Linked DNA regions of Homo sapiens: region 2 is linked to region 1. The links are contacts of gene promoters, found by promoter capture Hi-C in blood cells and fetal thymus (Javierre and others, 2016). All regions are on one chromosome and are shown on one strand. The core of a region is centred on a gene start or on the middle of the fragment in contact, and the rest is flanking DNA. Distances in the headings are between cores, read along the strand shown. Region 1 holds the start of CCDC183 (coiled-coil domain containing 183). Region 2 holds the start of MAN1B1 (mannosidase alpha class 1B member 1).

Region 1 (5,863 bases), core at 1,031-3,530:
GTATTAAAACTAAAAGTCCTAGGCCAGGAGCGGTGGCTCACACCTGTAATCCCAGCACTTTGGGAGGCCGAAGTGGGCGGATCACCTGTGGTCAGGAGTTCGAGACCAGCCTGGCCAACATGGTGAAACCCCATCTCTACTAAAAATACAAAACTAGCTGGGTGTGGTGGTGTGTGCCTGTAGTCCCAGCTACTCAGGAGGCTGAGGCAGAATTGTTTGAACCCAGGAGGTGGAGGTTGCAGTGAGCTGAGATTGCACCACTGCACTCCACCTGGACGACAGAATGAGACTCTGTCTCAAAAAAATAAATAAGCTAGGCGCCGGTGGCTCATGCCTGTAATCCCAGCACTTTGGGAGGCCGAGGCGGATGGATCACCTGAGGTCAGGAGTTTGAGACCAGCCTGGCCAAGATGGGTAAACCCCGTCTCTACTAAAAATACAAAAATTAGCTGGGCGTGGTGGTGGGCACCTGTAATCCCAGCTACTCGGGAGGCTGAGGCAGGAGAATCACTTGAACCCGGGAGGTGGAGGTTGCAGTGTGCTGAGATTGCACCATTGCACTCCAGCCTGGGTGACAGAGCGAGACTGCGTCTCAAAATAAATAAATAAATAAAAATACAAATACGAAAATTAGCTGAGTGTGGTGGCGTACACCTGATGTCCCAACTAATCAAGAGGCTGAGCCAGGAGAATCGCTCGAACCCGGGAGGTGGAGGTTGCAGTGAGCCGAGATCATGCCACTGCACTCGAGCCTGCGTGACAGAGCGAGACTCTGTCTCCAAACAAACATCCCCTAAAAGTGAAGGGGGCCTGCCCCTCCACACCTGCGGGTATTTCTCGTCAGGTGGGATGAAGACTGAGAAAAGAAATAAGACACAGAGGCTGGGCATGGTGGCTCACGCCTGTAATCCCAGCACTTTGGGAGGCTGATGCGGGCAGATCACGAGGTCAGGTGATCGAGACCATCCTGGCTAACACGGTGAAACCGCATCTCTACTAAAAATACAAAAAATTAGCCGGGCATGGTGGTGGGTGCCTGTAGTCCCAGCTACTTGGGAGGCTGAGGCAGGAGAATGACGTGAACCCAGGAGGTGGAGCTTGCAGTGAGCCGAGATCGCGCCACTGCACTGCCGTCTGGGCAACAGAGCAAGACTCCATCTCATAAAAAAAAAAAAAAAAGACACAAAGTATAGAGAAAGAACAGTGGGCCCAGGGGACTGGCACACTCAGCATGCGAGGACCTGCACCAGCCCTGGTCTCTGAGTTCCCTCAGTATTTACTGATCATTATTTTTACTATCTTGGTGAGGGGAGTGTAGCAGGGCAACAGGTGGTGAGAACGTCAGCAGGGAAACATGTGAGCAAAGGAATCTTTATCATGAATAAGTTCAAGGAAAGGTACTATGCCCAGATGTGCACGTAGGCCAGATTTGTTTCACGTTACACAAACATCTCAGTGTAGCAAAGAGTAACAGAGCAGTATTGCTGCCAGCATATCTTGCCTCTAGCCACAGAGCGGTTTTCTCCTATCTTAGAATAGAACGAATGGGAATGGTCGGCTTTACACTGAGACATTCCATTCCCAGGGACGAGCAGGAGACAGATGCCTTCCTCTTATCTCAACTGCAAAGAGGCCTCCCTCTTTCACTACTCCTCAGCACAGACCCTTTACTGGTGTCGGGCTGGGGGATGGTAAGATCTTTCCTTTCCCACGAGGCCATATCTCAGGCTGTCTCAGTGGGGGGAAACCTTGGACAATTCCCAGGCTTTCCTGGGCAGAGGTCCCTGCGGCTTTCTGCAGTGCACTGTGTCCCTGGTTAATCAAGAATGGAGGATGGGGATGACTTTTACCAAGCATACTGCCTGCAAACACATTGTTAACAAAGCACATCCTGCACGGCCCTAAATGCATTAATCTTTGATTCAATACAGCACATGTTTCTGTGAGCACAGAGTTGGGGCTAAAGTTACAGGTTAATAGCATCTCAAAGCAGAAACAATTTTTCTTAGTACAGATCAAAATGGAGTTTCTTATGTCTTCCTTTTCTACATAGACAGTAACAATCTGATCTCTCTTTTCCCCACAAAAAGTTGTGCACCCAGAAACCCCCAGACGGGAAAGGGAGACTGGTCACGGCGGTGCAGGCTCACCCTGGAGCTGAGTGATGGTCTTCAGCTCCTGGGTCTGCTCTTCCACATCTGTCTCACTGTGCCTCCTCATGGCTGCTCTCAGGCCCCCCAAGGGACCCTGTGTACCTCAAAGCCTCCCTGGGCTCAGCTTGCTCAGAGCCGCCACTCAGATTGTCCCCAGAACCTCAGCCCATTATGATGAGAGCCAGGATTCTCAGTGCCTGGGCAACCCTGGAATTGCAGGGCCTCCTGCCTCACTCTGCCCCCAGCCACCTTGGGGTGGCCTCCAGACATGTGTCCTAATTGAAATGAGTCTCCTGGCAGCTGCTCGAGGCTTAGGAGCTCTGCCGGGCGGATGTGCTTTCTTTGAGGGGGAGGTTTGTGATGGGTCTGCAGCACCGGCAGCTCACACCTGCACTGGGTTCCCTCCCTGGCCCCTCCCATGCCCCAAGCCATCCTCCACAAAGCAGCAGGCCGAGCCTCCTAAAACGATTCTGATACTATTCTGATACTGCCTTACGGGACCTCCCTCTGCACCCCCCACCCCCAGCCCCAAGTCCAAACTCCATGCACTGGGTAACCTGGCTCTTGGGACACCCCCACCTTATCTCTTCTGACTTCTGTCCCTGACCTCTCTGTGCTGTCTGGAGCCCACCCTGCTTCACCCCCACTTTCCTTTGGGAATTACTGGGTCTTGGGTTCATGTGTCACTCCAGAAAGGGTATGTTCTCCATCTCTGCACCCCCTCCACCCTTCCCTTAGAGGGGAGTACCTGGAGCACCAGGCAGCCTGGAACTCTGTGGGGTATGCACGAGATGGGGTACACACGAGATGGGGTACTTTTTCCCAGCCTTGCCTTAGTAGGCTCAGGCGGCCATAACAAGGTGCCACTGGCCAGGTGTGGAGGCTCACGCCTGTAATCCCAGCACTTTGGGAGGCTGAGGTGGGTGGGTCACCTGAGGTCAGGAGTTCAAGACCAGTCTGGTCAACATGGTGAAACCCCGTTTCTACTAAAAATACAAAAATTAGCCCAGTGTGGTGGTGGGCGCCTGTCCCAGCTACTTGGGAAGCCGAGGCAGGAGAATTGCTTGAATCCAGGAGGTGGAGGTTGCAGTGAGCTGAGATCGCGTCACTGCACTCCAGCCTGCGTGACAGAGTAAGACTCCATCTCAAAAAAACAAAAAACAAAAAAACAAAAAAACAAGGCGCCACCGACTGGGGGATGTGAACAGCAGCCTGGAGGCTGGGGGCTGAGATCACGGGTCAGCAGGGCTGGTGTCTCCTGAGGCCCCTCTCCTTGGCTTGCAGATGCTGTCTTCTCTGTGTCCTCACGTGGCCGTCCCTCTGTGTGTCTGTGTCCTAATTTCCTCTTCTTATGAGGACACCCCAATGACCTCATTTTACCTTAATGACCTCTGGAAAGCCCCTGTCTTCAAATACAGAGACATGCAGAGGTCCTGGGGGACAGAAATTTGGGGGGACCCAAGCCAGCCCGACAATGGCCTTTGCCCATGTGCTGTCACATAGATCCCTTCCCTTTCTGGTCACTGTTTTTGGAAAGCCAGTCCAGGCAAACTCCAGGTTCTCCCTTCTCTCCCTCCCACCCAGGCCTCACCCTCAGGGTGCTGGGATGTCCTGCTAAGGGTGTGGTCTGCTTACCTCCCCCTCGTTCTTGGGGGCCAGGCTTGGAATCTAGCTGAGGCAGAGCCTACCTGCTGTCCTTCTTCCTCAGATATAAAACACCTGAATTTTAGTGGGCGCATGGCTGCCCAGAGCAACTCTGCCTTCCTGAGCATCCTGGCACTGGATGTGCCTGATGACTTCGTTCAGGCCAACAGAGTGAGAGCAGCAGTGGCAGGCAAGCTGCCCTCTCTCCTGCCTCTTAAATGAGATAAAGACACAATGGCCGAAGCTGGTGCAGCCGCCTGGGGCCATGAGGCAGATTTGGGAACAGAGACCATTACAGCAGGGAGCAGACTGAAAGGAGCCTGGTCCCCGATTCCCTGTCAACCCTGGACCACTCACTTGGACTTTTACATGAAAGAAAAATAAAGCTCAGCCCGGCGCGGTGCCCAGCGGCTCACGCCTATAATCCCAGCACTTTGGGAGGCCGAGGTGGGCAGATCACATGAGGTCAGGAGTTTGAGACCAGCCTGGCCAACATAGTGAAACCCCGTCTCTACTAAAAATACAGAATTAGCTGGGCATGGTGGCGCATACCTGTAATCCCAGCTACTCGGGAGGCTGAGGCAGGAGAATCGCTTGAACCCGGGCAGCAGAGGTTGTGGCGAGCTGAGACTGCACCACTGCACTCCAGCCTGGGCAACAAGAGTGAAACTCCATCTCAAAATAAATAAATAAATAAATATTAGCCAGGCGTGGTGGTGGGTGCCTATAATCCCAGCTACTTGGGAGGCTGAGGCAGGAGAATGGCTTGAACTGGTGAGGTGGAAGTTGCAGTGAGCCGACATCACGCCATTGCCCTCCAGCCTGGGTGACAGAGCGAGACTCTGTCTCCAAACAACGACGACAACACCACAAAAAACAGAAAAATAAAGCTCCATCTTGCTGAAGCCACTGTCAACTTGAGCTTCCTGTCACTCTGAAGGCCCAGTAGGTACTCAATAAACTTTCTTTCCAGTGCCTGGCAAGGTGAGGCGTGGCAGCTGAGCTGGGTCGGGGGCAGCAGGGCCCATGCTGTGGGTCTTCGGTGCTGCGGGGAAGCCAGCTGTAACCATGATGGACTTGTGGAGGTTCCGTCTGGTCTCCACCTCTTCCTCCTCTTGGGGCTCGGGGCTGTGTGTAGGCTTGCCCACTCAGAAGCTTTCCCTCCACACAGACACGGCTACAACGGGCTAGCTCTGCCTCTGGGGAGTGACTTTGGCTAATAGATGAGTGGGGAATGATAGGCAGGTGGGCGTGGCCCACAAGTCCCTCCTCTCCCAGCAGCCAGGCTCTGGCCAGCCTGGCCCCTTTTGCTCTGCCCCTACATGCCAAGTGCTACAGAGGCAGACCCCCATACAGAGAGGCTGTGGTGGTGTCACGTGGCCTACGGGGCTGATGCGAACGTCTAATTCTGGGGTTCAGCGCTGGGAACTTCCCTGTACATCCTCAGTATGTAACTTGCATGTGATCCTCATATATCAACTGTAGGGTAATAAAGGTTTCATGTGACCTGTCATCATCTTACCCTTCTGATTTGTTTTTCACCTGGTCAGGTGGAAACTTGGGTGGAGAGAAGGATAAGCCATTTATTAACCCCACGCCCCTAGCACCAGCTGTCACCTTGGACTTGTTGGAGATGCAGGGGCTAGAAAGGAAATGACAGAGTGTACAGGCCCCTTCGACCCCGTGTCCCATAGGTGGTGGCCCCCAGACACACCCTCTCTGCTGGCAGTGCAGAACATGCATCCCAATACCCTAGAGGAGAAACACCACCCCAGGGAGAGCCCTTTCTGCTCCAACCTCCTGGGCAGGTCCCAGGTTGGGGCAGCAGCCATCTGCAGGTGTTTGTCAGGCCTGGCCACACATGCGGACAGAGGATACGACTGGGGTACCCTAGGGTGTGGGGAGGGTCGGCCTGGGGTCAGGGGGCATGAAGGCTGTGTTCCAGACTCCTCCTGCCCCCAATCCTCTGTGCCCCTGCTGGAGCTCTCCTAGCTTCTCTGATCTGTAAAAGGCAAAGAGAGACAAGCTCGAACCACATCCATCGTGGCTGGGCATCCCTGTGCCCA
Region 2 (6,186 bases), core at 415-2,914, 290 kb before region 1:
TGCCTTCCTATTTTCCATTCAGGGACGTTCAGCATGTGGCAGGTGGGCAGGAGCCCTTTAGCTTTGCTCCAAAGAGAAGCATCTTAGACCAAGTGAGAAGAGATTCTCCACATCCTCACCAGAACTCTGCCTGGTCTTTTCCAAACACACGCTAATGAGTGCTACGAAATTTGTGTGGTTATTTAGGCTGAGTGTTCAAGCCCACCAGCTGACTTACTCTATAAGGGAGGCTGGACATATCAGTACTTACACCAGAGACCTAGAAAGTAGTCAGACAGCATCAAATTAACATCTGTGTTCTAGCCAGGTGGTTACATACAGCTCTACCTTTCTCTTTATCTTGATTTCTTGCCAATTCGTTGCCATATATGCCTCCTGGAGCTGTTTAAGGTAGAATGCAAGATTGCTTCTGCCCAATCAACCCTCAACACAGATATCGTTTTCAAGTACACGTGTTTCTGATACCTTTCCAATGGTCAGCCAAGTTGATGTAGAAGAGGAGTCCACAGAAAAGCAGAAAGGCAAGGAGGAAGAGAATCATATTCCGCTGCAATCTCGACAGTTGCTTCCATTTCTAAGGGAGGTACAGAGAATGACATTTCTTACTGAATATATCACACGGAACGTCTCAACTGTCACAAACTGTGAGGACAATAAGGAATTCTTCTGGAAGATCCAGTGTTCAGCTCTATTTCTTTTTTTTTTTGGAAACAGGGTCTCATTCTGTTACACCTAGGCTGGAGTGTAGTGGGTGGAACGCGGGATGAGCCACCGTGCCCGGCCAGCTCTATTTATTTTGAATGGGGAGAAGTTCCCTCTCAGCAGGGAGTAGGAACATTGCTGGGACAATACTACAGATGTCGTTAATACAGTGGTGCAGATGAGACGAGGATAAGAAAAAAGCAGAAACATTTCTGTCACATTTCATCAACAGTGGAGAAAGACTCCTGCGACTCCCACAGATGTAGCCCAGGCACCGCCCAGGCGATGCACAGTCCGCATGTGGTTATCAATGCCCTTCGGCCTGAGACCACCACGAACAGACCAGGAGCCAATCAAGAGGGGCTCATTTCTCACTGTACCGAGGGGAGCATACACCACGGGGAACCTCCGGTTTCCGCTCCAAGAGGGGCAGGCGCCTGGGCCAGGACCTTGCAGAAAAGCGAACGAAGCCCAGAAAACCTGCTGGGGCTCTGAGCCCTCTTCCCACCACCGCCCCGCAGAATTTGGGCCGCTGAGACCGCTGCAGGCGAGCCGCCCACGGCTGCCCCAACCAGGAACGCACATTTGCCCCTTTTTGCGGGGAAGGGGTGGAGAGGGCGGCGCCTGGGGAGTCGAGTCCGCCCGCCCAGGTCCCGCTCGGAGCCGCAGTCTGGGAGGGCGGCGGGCACGGCAGCCCCGGGCCCCAGTCAGCCCGGCGCGACCCTCACCCTCCAGCACGAGCGCCGCCGCCAACTCTTGCTGTTGTCATAGTTCTCGCCAAAGCTCAGCGTCACCGAGATGAAGTCCCGATGAGGCGGCGGCGGCGGCGGTGGGTACATGACTACAGTGGTGGCGACGGCCCAAGGGGCCCCGCCCACTGGCGGCGTCAGGAAGTCCGACTGAGAGGAACCGAGAGCTCCGCTTCTCCTGCCCTCGCAGGCAGCCATCGCAGCGCCGTCAACAGCCCGCCCATCACACGGATACGCGACTGCGCGTGCGCTGCGTCTCTATGCGGCCAGTGCGCCCGCGCCTGTCTCCGCTGCGCTCCAGCGTACGGGGCTGCGTCCTACGGCGACTGCGTCAGACAACTGCTGCGACTCCGCCCTGCCCTCAGGTTCATTGCGCATGCGTCCGGCAGCGCCTGCCCAGGTGTGCTACGAGCGTAGCTGTAGCAACGGGGCGGGCCTTGGTTCGCCTGGGGCGTGGTCGCTGTCTGGGGCTCCCACGTGGTTCGCCTCATGGGCCTGGAGCTGGGCTTCTCTCGCCTCCTGTCGTCTGGCTGCACCGACTTTGCCCACGCCCTCACGGGAGACGCAGACACTAGGGACCCGGGGAGGCGCCCGGGCGGGGCCGCCATGTTGGCAGAGAGTCCCAGCGTCCCGCGCCTCGGTTCCGGAACCCGCGGCGCGGGGATGGAGCTGGGCTGCCCTTGGGCGCCGTCCTGGGCTGGTGCCCACCCTGGCCGCGTGGTCACCGGCAAGAAGCCCAGGGCCTCACCCAGGCGTGGGGGCCGGGGGAAGGACCGGACCCTCCCGAAGTCGCGGACCAGGCCGGGCGGCACCCGGGCTGGGGTGGCTGCTACCCCGAGCTAAGCTGGCTGCGCCGCATCTCACGGTCCCCGGGGCCCGAGCGCTGCGCCTGGACCGGCGCCGAGCGAGGCGGCCAATCGGCCGGCTGGACCCACAGTCCCCGCGCCATAGGCGGGTCGGGGCTTTCAGACCCGGCTCCCAGCCCTCGAACTCGGTAACCTTGGAGGTCAGCTTGAGATGACTGCGCTTCCTGCACGCGTTGTCCTCCCCAGAAACGCCCAAAATGGCAAAGCGGCGTCCGTGGCCGCCCGAGGCCCTCCCTGCCTGGGTTCTCCCCAGCCGAACCTCACGCCCGGCCCCTCCTTCATTCTCTCCTGGCCAGGCTGCTCCTGCCCTTGGGCGAATCCGCTGCGTCCCACGGTCCTGACTGTGGCATTTCTGCGTGTCTGGAGAGCTCCCCCGGCAGCGACGTCCTGCTTAGCACGTGGCTCGTCTAACTCTGTTCCCCTGGCCTCCTGCTCTTCTAGGGGTCATCTTTAGGTTTCTGCTGGTCTCTGCCCCCTGTGACACTTGCTGGTACCCAAATGAAGTCGTTTATGTCACACTCTAACAAGAGGCCCTGAAGAAGCCCTCACAAAAACATTAGCAACGGAGCGCCTGCGGCAAACCCTTCTAACCTTTGGTCTTTATGGTTTCAAAGCAGTTTATGGGAACTTCTCTTTTTTAAAAGATTCCCCTTGGGGCCAGGCGCGGTGGCTTCTGTAATCCCAGGACTTTGGGAGGCCGAGGCAGGTGGATCACTTGAGGTCAGGAGTTCAAGACTAGCCTGGCCAACATGGTGAGACACCCGTCTCTACAAAAAACACAAAAAAATTAGCAGGGCATGGTTGGTGGCAGGCACCTGTAGTCCCAGCTACACGGGAGGCTTAGGCAGGAGAATTCCTTGAACCCAGGAGGTGGAGGTTGCAGTGAGCCGAGATGGCACCACTGCACTCCAGCCTGGGCAACAGAGCAAGACTCTGTCTCAAAAAAAAAAAAAAAAAAAAAAAAGAAATTTCCCGTGGGCGGGGCACAGTGACTCATGCCTGTAGTAATCCCAGCACTTTTGGAGGCCAAGGTGGGCAGATCCCCTGAGCTCAGGAGTCCAACCTGGGCAACATGGTGAAACCCCTGTCTCTACAAAAAATAAAAAAATGAGTCCAGTGTGGTGGTGTGCACCTGTGGTCCCAGCTACTCTGGAGGCTGAGGTGGGAAGACCACCTAAGCCCCAGGAGGTCGAGGCTGCAGTGAGCCATGATTGCACCACTGCACTCCAGCCTGGGCAACAGAGTGAGATCCAGTCTCAAAAAAAAAAAATTCCCCCTTTCCTCAATCCCCACCCCACCCCCCCACCACATGCCTGTGACCCACTGAGGCTTGCATACTCTGCATTGCAATTATGTGTTATTCTTGATTAAATTCATTTATTCTGGAGAGCCTGAGTTTCTCTTTAGGTTGACACCACTCACTCTTGTCAGTCCCTGGAGTACCCCAAGCATCCTCACGTGGTTAGCAGGGAAACCTTGGCATCTCAAGGATGCAGGTGCAGGAGAGCGAGTCTCCAGGCTGTCAGAGCTGAGCATGCAGAAGCCTGCCCTGGAGAGCGCCCCGAGGTTCCTGACCGCAGGTTGTCTCAGGCCCTCCTGAGACCCTGGTGAAGAGTGGGATGGGACCGCGGGGGGATTCCTTGGCACCCCAAGTAGTCTTGGCCTTCATGTGTGAACTCCTGTCCCTAAGGGGGCCCCCAGTGAGCTCCAGCCCTGGGACACAGCTGTGAACACCTGATCCTTGTTCCCAACACCCGTGCACTGCCCAAAAACTGCACTTGCCAGAGTAGCAGTCAATTACGGCACCTTGTGTTTATTGGAAATATTCCACCTACAGAACATTAAGATGCCAGCAACCGGCCCGGCGCGGTGGCTCACACCTATAATCCCAGCACTTTGGGAGGCCGAGGTGGGTGGATCACGAGGTCAGGAGATCGAGACCATCCTGGCTAACACGGTCAAACCCCATCTCTACTAAAAATACAAAGAATTAGCCAGGCGTGGTAGTGGGTGCCTGTAGTCCCAGCTACTAGGGAGGCTGAGGCTGGCCTGGAGGTTGCAGTGAGCCAAGGTCACGCCACTTCACTCCAGCCTGGGCAACAAGAGTGAAACTCCGTCTAAAACAAACAAAAAAAAAGACTTCACCCAACTAACTGTGCTTGTGTAGAAAGAGGTTGCATCCCTGTTCCAGTCATGGCCATGAGGAACAGCTATGAGAAGGGCCCTAAGGCACAGCATGGTTTGCAGTAAGAAGGGCAGAGCCAGGGAGAGAGAAGTAAACATCATCTTCTGGGCTTTGGTTTCAAAAATCACAAGGTGTGGGCCTGAGCCTGCTGCCTGCCCAGGTCTGGGCGCCTCCACTCAGCCACTGTCCTCCCAGTGCCTCTAAATCTGGAAGGCTGCATCTGAACCTGCCCTTCCAGACAACACCCCTCCCCTGGGAAACCAATGGGGATGAGTAGTGGCCCTCCACTGGGGACTGTGGGTTTCGAGGTGGGGGCAGAGGATGAGTTGGCAGCAGTGGCATATCATAGCTCTCTTCATGTCAGCAGGGAGAGGGAGGTGCCACTGCCTCCCCTGAGATGAGAAAGCAGGCGAGAATCACCAGGGGAAGAACCCTGGGGCAGCTGGCTTGTCCCAGCCATGCCTGAGTGCACCAAATATGGAGGCTGCGTCCTCACTCGGAGAGCCAGGCAGCCTGAGCACCAAGATCCGTCAGAAGCAGCAGGCAGCTGGGGTGAGGGGTGGTGCCTCTGACTCATGAAATCCCGGATTAGTCAGCAACCATCACAGAGGCCGCCGGCATTGATCCCACTGGTTCTTGGGGAAGCACAGAAAACTCAGCAGCCTAAACCGACCATGGAAGAGGCTGAGAGGCAGAGGCCTTGGGGATAGATGGGGAGAAGGCAGGAGTACCGGCCGCAGGCTCAGGTGTCCAGGCCAAGCTTCTCAGAGCCACCTGGATCATGGACATCAGGCTCTTTCTGTGGCCTTGCTGGGCATCCAGGGTGTGTGGGCTGGGATGCCCCAGCCTTGCCCCCATTACTGGTTCGTCTGCTAAGGAAGAGGGGGCAGCCCTCGAGTGGGTGGAATTGTCCCCCTCATTCTGGTTCTGCATCTGTAGGCTGCAGAAGCACATCCTGTGTAGCTTATGCAGCTTCTAGTGCTCGGTGGGGTGTGGTGGATCCACAAGGCGGGCTCCCAAAGGGACATGCCCTCCTGTTCTCCCCAGATGACACCACACCTCCCTTGGGCCCCAACCCGAAGCCTCCTCTCAGCCCCATTCTCCCAGGTCCCAAGTCCCTCTGCCTCTTGACTAGACCCCACAGCCAGGAATGGAGCCACAGAGCCCCCAGCAGGCTGTCGCCACTTGTGTCCAGAGGCGACAGGAGAGGCCCTGCCCTCGTGGAGTCTACCAGCATGTTTCATTCTGTGTTCTGCAGGCTGGAAGCATGGGGCAGGCTGCTTTCCCACCCAGAGCTCAGGCTGGGCTGTAGCCCCCAGCTCCAGGACGCCGGGGCTGGCAGGTCTGGGGGGAGTCGGGACTTCCAGGATGCCGGGGCTGGCAGGTCTCGGGGGAGTCTGGGGACAGTCTGGGCGGGTCAGGACTCCTGCAGCTGCGGCTCCCTGGCCTGGTCTTCATCCAGGATGAGCGGGGACTGGAACTCCCGGCCTTGCAGGTACACTTCTAAACCCTGGAGACGAGCAGGGGACAATGGCCAAGTACCCACCTTTTGGCGGGTCACAGCCCCTCTGGCCACACCAAGAGCCACAGTCCCCAGGTGCGATCCCAGGTCTGCCTGGAGTCAGGGAGGGGTGGGGACAGAAAGGCTTCCAGGGCCAGGAGCAGACACACACTGCAAGGCCAC

The links. The method cuts DNA at HindIII sites, captures the fragments that hold promoters and counts their contacts. A CHiCAGO score of 5 or more calls a contact.
Region 2: a contact is called between the fragment with the promoter of MAN1B1 here and the fragment with the promoter of CCDC183 in region 1, in 5 of 17 cell types (naive CD8 T cells, total CD8 T cells, activated CD4 T cells and 2 more). The highest score is 7.3, in naive CD8 T cells.

What each region holds. Positions count from the first base shown.
Region 1 is chr9:136,792,755-136,798,617 of GRCh38, reverse strand. It overlaps CCDC183 (coiled-coil domain containing 183), which reads right to left and starts at 2,280. Exons shown (of 14, transcript NM_001039374.5): 1 at 2,151-2,280. The coding sequence starts at 2,220. TMEM141 (transmembrane protein 141) reads right to left here. Exons shown (of 5, transcript NM_032928.4): 5 at 5,301-5,799. The coding sequence ends at 5,786. RefSeq lists a silencer at 1,347-1,641 and an enhancer at 2,358-2,859. The HindIII fragment of the contact is 12,043 bases long and covers 1-4,954 here.
Region 2 is chr9:137,082,463-137,088,648 of GRCh38, reverse strand. MAN1B1 (mannosidase alpha class 1B member 1) reads right to left here and starts at 1,664. Exons shown (of 13, transcript NM_016219.5): 1 at 1,431-1,664; 2 at 466-574. The coding sequence starts at 1,649. It overlaps MAN1B1-DT (MAN1B1 divergent transcript), which reads left to right and starts at 1,832. Exons shown (of 1, transcript NR_027447.1): 1 at 1,832-3,703. It overlaps UAP1L1 (UDP-N-acetylglucosamine pyrophosphorylase 1 like 1), which reads right to left. Exons shown (of 9, transcript NM_207309.3): 9 at 4,111-6,012. The coding sequence ends at 5,920. RefSeq lists silencers at 1,301-1,530, 2,081-2,310, 4,896-5,130 and enhancers at 1,511-1,740, 4,908-5,237. The HindIII fragment of the contact is 12,458 bases long and covers 1-5,264 here.